Linked DNA regions of Homo sapiens: region 2 is linked to region 1. Evidence: promoter capture Hi-C in 16 types of primary human blood cells and fetal thymus (Javierre and others, 2016). All regions are on one chromosome and are shown on one strand. The core of a region is centred on a gene start or on the middle of the fragment in contact, and the rest is flanking DNA. Distances in the headings are between cores, read along the strand shown. Region 1 holds the start of KLHL11 (kelch like family member 11). Region 2 has its middle 7.8 kb from the start of GAST.

The links. Contacts are between HindIII fragments. The CHiCAGO score rates a contact against its expected background, and 5 or more counts as called.
Region 2: a fragment that was not itself captured here is called in contact with the fragment with the promoter of KLHL11 in region 1 in 2 of 17 cell types (endothelial precursors and megakaryocytes); the score reaches 5.6 in endothelial precursors.

Annotation. Positions count from the first base shown.
Region 1 is chr17:41,863,841-41,867,246 of GRCh38, forward strand. It overlaps KLHL11 (kelch like family member 11), which reads right to left and starts at 1,583. Exons shown (of 2, transcript NM_018143.3): 1 at 986-1,583. The coding sequence starts at 1,530. ACLY (ATP citrate lyase) reads right to left here. Exons shown (of 29, transcript NM_001096.3): 29 at 3,078-3,406. RefSeq lists enhancers at 1-23, 1,767-2,267, 2,268-2,768 and a silencer at 1,544-1,733. The HindIII fragment of the contact is 13,530 bases long and covers 1-3,406 here.
Region 2 is chr17:41,718,408-41,721,813 of GRCh38, forward strand. It overlaps a transcript of HAP1 not described here. Among named protein-coding and RNA genes, the nearest start is that of GAST, 7.8 kb to the left of the region's middle. The HindIII fragment of the contact is 2,667 bases long and covers 446-3,112 here.

The DNA.
Region 1 (3,406 bases), core at 333-2,832:
GAAAACACTTCCTCTCCCCCAGCAGTTTCTATGTACTCCCCCCATGCTTTATTTTTCATCAGTGATGACAATCATCCAACAGGCTATACATTTAACAATCATCCAACAGGCTATACATTTTACTTATTTACCGTCCATCTACCAACCTAAGTGCGATAAGGAAAAGGACTTTTGTCTGTTTTGATCACTGCTGAAACCCTAGCACCTTAGAATCCCGCATCTGAGCTGATGCGTAATAGGCGCTCAATAGGCATTTTTGTTAATGTATCTGTAAGATGATAATTGCCAAAACAAACGCCTCTCCATCTCTATAAACGGTATTACCTGCCTTCTAACCAGTCTCTGGAGCATTCCTGCTCCCTACAATCCGTTTAACACAGTGGCAGAATAATATTAAAATATTTAAATGAGCTATTTCTTTACCCAGCTTCCTATCACACTTAGTGAAATCCAAACTCCTTATTCCAACGCATCTCACGCATCCTTCTCCCCTTCATCCACTAGATCCAGCCTCACTGGACTATATTTTAATTCTCTTCTCTAAGCCAAACTGGATCCTGCCTGAGGGCGTTTGCGCTGTCTGGAATATTCATTCCCCATCTTTGCACGGTCAGTTATTTTTTGACATTCAGAGGTCGATCTAAACTTCACCTCTTCAGAAAGATCTTTATTCAATCCCTAGCCTTTCATTCCTTTTGAACGTCAGCACAACAGTTACCACATACTGACTTTCCTTTTCATCACTTTTGTCCCATCACCTAGTATCTGAGCTCCTTGGGCGCGGGGCGCCCTCGCCGGACCTGATGGTGCATCCTCCTCGCCCACCGCGGTGGCTGCCCCCAAGCAGGCGCTCAGCGAGTGTGAAACCAATGCATTCACTCAGGACTCGCGAGCTGCCGTGGCAGGCACTGCCCTCCCCTCCGCCAGCGAGCATCTCCCCCTCTCCGCGCCCGCCGCCCTCCGCGCTCCCGCCTCCCTCGCCTACCTGTCGGCCAACTCCAGCACCTCGTGCACGCTGCCCGTGCTGACGCGGATGCGCCCGGTGTACATGTACTCGATTACGGCTTCCACTGTGTCGGGTTCGGGCCCCGGCTCGGAGCTCCACTTGCGCATCTCCACCCGTCCCGAGCGGGACTCGGAAAACTGGCCCGAGAGCAGGGGCGTGAAGTACTCGGTGGCGGCAGCCAGTACCGAGCGGTGGGCCCGGAACTCGCGGCCTCCAGCCCCGCCGAAGCACAGGGTAATGTCGCAGAAGAGGCCCTGGCGCCGCTGCTCGTTCTGCCGCCAGGACAGCTCTGAGCAGTGAGAGCTGCACTCGAAATCCTCGGCTTCTGGGCCCGGATCGCCCCCGCTCGCCTCCATTGCAGAGATCCCCGGCCCAGGCCCGAAGTCCACCGTGCCGCTGCCTCGGACCTCGGCGGCCAGTCCTGCCGAGCCGGCGGCGGCCGTCTCCATGCTCTCCATCTCCAGTACCTGAAGAGATGCAGCCGCGGCCGCCGCCGCCGCCGCCGCCACTGCCGCAGCCGCCATCTTGACGCCGCTGCGCCCGGCCTCCACAGCCTCGGAACGATGCGGCTGTTGGTACGACACAGAGGGATTCTGGGATTAAATAGTGCGCGCGGGGCGGGGCCAGGTCGCCCGCCGGCCGCACATGCGCCGCCTCGCCTCCAGCAGCGCCGCCTCGCCTCCAGCAGCGCCGCCTCGCCTCCAGCAGCGCCGCCTCGCCTCCAGCAGCTCTGCCTGCCTTGGTGAGGTCCGTCAGTAACAGTCGCCCAGTCCAGAAGACTTCGCCCCAGGCCTACCCCCAGGGCGTCGGTGCGAGTATGGCTCGCTTCCTTTCCTTAGTGGGTAGCATGCTCTCTGCAGTCATTTTGTCGAGTAAAGCCACCTTAGACCATCACCTGTTGTTAAAGCCTTGAGTGGCAATACAGGATTTTTATAAGATCTAGCCCCAGCTAAGTGGATGAGGGATGAATGAGTTACTCGTTATCCGTTTTTTTTTTTGTTTCTTTTTGTTTTTGTTTTGTTTTGGGTTTTTTGTTTTTTTTTTTTTTGAGACGGAGTCTCGCTCTGTCGCCCAGGCTGGAGTGCAGTGGCGCGCTCTTCGCTTATTGCAACCTCCGCTGCCCGGGTTCAAGCGATTCTTGTGCCTCAGCCTCCCGAGTAGCTGGGACTACAGGCGCCCGCCACCACTCCAGGCTAATTTTTTTTTTTTTTTTTTTTTTGAGACGGAGTCTCGCTCTGTCGCCCAGGCTGGAGTGCAGTGGCGCGCTCTTCGCTTATTGCAACCTCCGCCGCCCGGGTTCAAGCGATTCTTGTGCCTCAGCCTCCCGAGTAGCTGGGACTACAGGCGCCCGCCACCACTCCAGGCTAATTTTTTTTTTTTTTTTTTTTTTGAGACGGAGTCTCGCTCTGTCGCCCAGGCTGGAGTGCAGTGGCGCGGGTCTCGGCTCACTGCAACCTCCGCCTCCCGGGTTCACGCCATTCTCCTGCCTCAGCCTCCGGAGTAGCTGGGACTACAGGCGCCCGCCACCATGCCTGGCTAAGTTTTTGTATTTTTAATAGAGACGGGGTTTCACCGTGTTAGCCAGGATGGTCTCGATCTGCTGACCTCGTGATCCACCCGCCTCAGCCTCCCAAAGTGCTGGGATTACAGGCATGAGCCACCACGCCTGACCGTAGATGAGCATTTTTAAAACCATATATACTGAAACTATTAGTACAGTTCAGGCCAGGCCAGGCACAGTGGCTCACGCCTGTAACAGCACTTTGGGAGGCCAAGGAGGATGGATTGCTTGAGTCCATGAGTTCCAGAAGAGCCTGGGAAATACAGCAGAACCTTATCTCCACAAAAAATACAAAAGTTAGCCTGGAGTGGTGGCATGCTCCTGTAGTCCCAGCTACTTGGGAGGCTGGAGTGGGAGGACTGCTTGAGCCCAGGAGATGGAGGCTGCAGTGAGCTGTGATGGTGCCACTGTACTCCAGCCCTGGGGCGACAGAGTGATACCCTGTCTGGAAAAAAGTACAGTTACAAAGGAATACAGATCAAAGGATATGGATGCCAGGAGCCAGCAGTATGCCTTCATTGTTACTATATAGTTTATTTAAACCAGACTATGATAATACAGAGAAGAGACTGAGGTGGCAGCTGCCCAGAATCTTTGTGGATTACAGATGCAAAGTAGTTAGGAGTCCTTGGACCCACACTTCAGTTACAGACAGACAAATCAGCTGCATAAATACAGAGAACATAAGACACAAGACATTTCACAGCTTTCTGCATTTCCATTTTAAATGTATGTATGTTACAACTTTACATATTAAGTTACTACTCCACATATTTTGTGACAATGGCTAAGGATGCAATGGCCCCATCCCCCTGACATAAACAGACTCTGGTCTGCAA
Region 2 (3,406 bases), core at 529-3,028, 150 kb before region 1:
TGGGCCTCCCCCGGCTTCTCCTGCCCCCCTGGGCTGCCATGTGACCCACATCCGGCAGTCACAGCTCTTGTGCCAGCTGCAGAACAAGGGCTGGGGTTCCTACCGCCTGTCCCAGAAGAGGGCTGAGGTCCAGGCCCCCAAGCTCCAGCCTAGGTTAGACTTCCAAGGGTGGCTAACTGTGCATGGGAAAGCAGCTATATGGAAAACGAATGGTAGATAAAGGCTAGTGAGTCAAGTTTGTTATTAGATTGCACTGGTGCCACTCCAGGCTGAAAGGGGTCTAAAGTTGTCTCCGACTTGTTCCAGACATTATGGAAGGAAAACGTCCTACGTAAATGAAATTGTCATTCTGTGTCCTCCCACCACAGCAGCAGATGTGTCCTTCCGTTGAGTGAGGGTAACCTTACGTCCACCAAGGATACTTGGAGAAAGTCTATGAGGAGCAAGCTTCAGTCCCACGGTTTCAGACTATTTATGCTCTGAACACAAGAGTACTGGTTAATTATGTTCTCAGCTCTCCTCGCTGTTCTAAGTGTGCACTTGTTGCAAGTAACTTATATTTTTTTATTTGAATGTATTTTATTTTTTTGAGACAGAGTCTTGCTCTGTCACCCAGGCTGGATTGCAGTAGTGCCATCTCAGCTCACTGCAACCTCCACCTCCCAGGTTCAAGCGATTCTCCTGCCTCAGCCTCTCAAGTAGCTGGGATTATAGGCAGGCACCACCATGCCAGGCTAATTTTTGTACTTTTTAGTAGAGGTGGGGTTTCACCATGTTGTCTAGGCTGGTCCTGAACTCCTGACCCCGTGATCCACCCGCCTCAGCCTCCCAAAGTGCTGGGATTCTCTAGGTGTGAGCCGCTGCACTCAGCCTGAATGTATTTTAAAGCAGTAGATAGAATAACAAAGGAATATGAAAACCATGGATTGAATGGACCATTTTATGTATTCAGAGAGACGAGCCACCATCATTGCCAGAAATACCATGTAAAAATTGGCAATTTGGCCAGCCGCAGTGGCTCACGTCTGTCATCCCAGCACTTTGGGAAGCCAAGGCAGGCGGATCACCTGAGGTCAGGAGTTCGAGACCAGCCTGACCAATACGGTGAAACACTGTCTCTACTAAAAATACAAAAATTAGCTGGGCATGGTGTTATGCATCTGTAATCCCAGCTACTCAGGAGGCTGAGACAGGAGAATTGCTTGAGCCCAGGAGGCAGAGGTTGCAGTGAGCTGAGATCACGCCATTGCACTCCAGCCTGGGAGACAGGGCGAGACTCTGTCTCAAAAAAAAAAAAGGCAATTTGGAGATTGCAGTATTTAGTAAACAAATAAATGATCAACATTGTGCAACCACTACCAAAAAGTGTATTGTAATGCATCAAAAATCAACATTTTATTCACTAATGAGTATCAATAAAATAAGTCCAAATTATGGAAACCAAAAAAATAATAAAAAATAAAGTTGTCTCCAGATATTTAACTTTTTTTTTTTTTTTTTGAGACAGAGTCTCACTCTGTTGCCCAGGCTGGAGTGCAGTGGCACGATCTTGGCTCACTACAAGCTCTGCCTCCCGGGTTCATGCCATTCTCCTGCCTCAGCGTCCCAAGTAGCTGGGATTACAGGCGCCCACCACCACGCCTGGCTAATTTTTTGTATTTTTAGTAGAGGCGGGGTTTCACCGTGTTAGCCAGGATGGTCTCGATCTCCTGACCTCATGATCCACCCACCTTGGCCTCCCAAAGTGCTGGGATTACAGGCATGAGCCACCGCGCCCAGCTTTATTTATTTATTTATTTATTTTTGACACAGAGTTTCGCTGTTGTTGCCCAGGCTGGAGTGCAATGGGGCAATCTCGGCTCACTGCAACCTCCGCCTCCCAGGTGCAAGCAATTCTTTTGCCTCAGCCTCCCAAGTAGCTGGGATTACAGGCATGTGCCACCACACCTGGCTAATTTTGTATTTTCAGTAGAGACAGGGTTTCTCCATGTTGCTCAGGCTGGTCTTGAACTCCTGACCTCAGGTGATCCACCCACCTCGGCCTCCCAAAGTGTTAGGATTACAGGCATGAGCCACCGTGCCCAGCCCAGAGATTTAACTTTTATCCTTCCTGGTAGATGGACACAGTTGAAAATGTATGTCCTGTTTTTATGCAAATAGGAGGGTAGGGAGCTTTTCTTGTATCTGCTTCTTCTCAATTGCCTTCAGCTCAAAATAGTCCTTATGCCAAAGTGGCATATTTGGAGGTAACACATTCTAATTTCCTTCAGGGCCAAGTGCAGGGCAGTTAAATGCCTCCAGAAGCATCTCTCAGACAGTGTCAGATGACAGTTAGAGGATAAATACCCCAGCTCCCCCACCCAAGGGGTGGGATAACTCTGAGATATATTCTTTTTTTTTTTTTTCCTTGAGACGGAGTTTCACTCTTATTGCCCAGGCTGGGGTGTAATGGTGCAATCTCAGCTCACCGCAACCTCCACCTCCTGGATTCAAGCGATTCTCCTGTCTCAGCCTCCCGAGTAGCTGGGATTACAGGCATGTGTGCCACCATGCCCAGTTAATTTTGTATCTTTAGTGGAGACGGGGTTTCTCCATTGGTCAGGCTGGTCTCGAACTCCTGACCTCAGGTGATCCACCTGCCTCGCCCTCCCAATGTGCTGGGATTACAGGTGTGAGCCACCTCACCCAGGCTACTCTGAGATATATTCTACTGTCCCCCAGAGTTCCCAGCAGGACTGAGACCCGGTTAGCCACAGCAATAATCTTCTCAATGATATTCTTTTGGCAGGGGGGCCACAAAGTGTGTTTTATTTTTACTATTCATATAAATAATTTTCTATAATATCCTGGAGCAAACCAGAGAATTTGGCAGTCCCATTTGCGGGTCCCCTCAGAGACCCACAGGCCAGTGGCATCTGTGTGAGGTGCCCAGGTTCACAGAGCAGCTTGTGGCTTGCATCCACCTTGCAGGTTGCTTTTCTTCCACATCACCACTGGGGACTTGAAGATAACAGGGGCAGGGAATCCTCCAGATTTTAGGAAATTTCACTGCTTCTCCTGCTCAGTGGTCTCTGGTCCACAAGGTGTTCTCCTGCATCTCCGTTTCCTTCAAAGCTTTATCAAAGCTGGCAATTTCCCCCATGTCTGGTTTGTCTGTCATTTTCTTTTCTCTTTTTTTGAGACAGGGTCTTACTCTGTCACCCAGGTTGGAGTACAGTGGTGCAACCTCAGCTCACTGCAACCTCAACCTTCCAAGCTCAAGTGATCCTCTCACCTCAGCCTCCCAAGTAGCTGGGATTACAGGGGCTGCCACCATGCCCAGCTAATTTTTTTTGTATTTTTAGTAGAGACGGGGTTTCACCATGTTGACCAGGCTGGTCTCGAACTCCTGACCTCAAGTGATCCA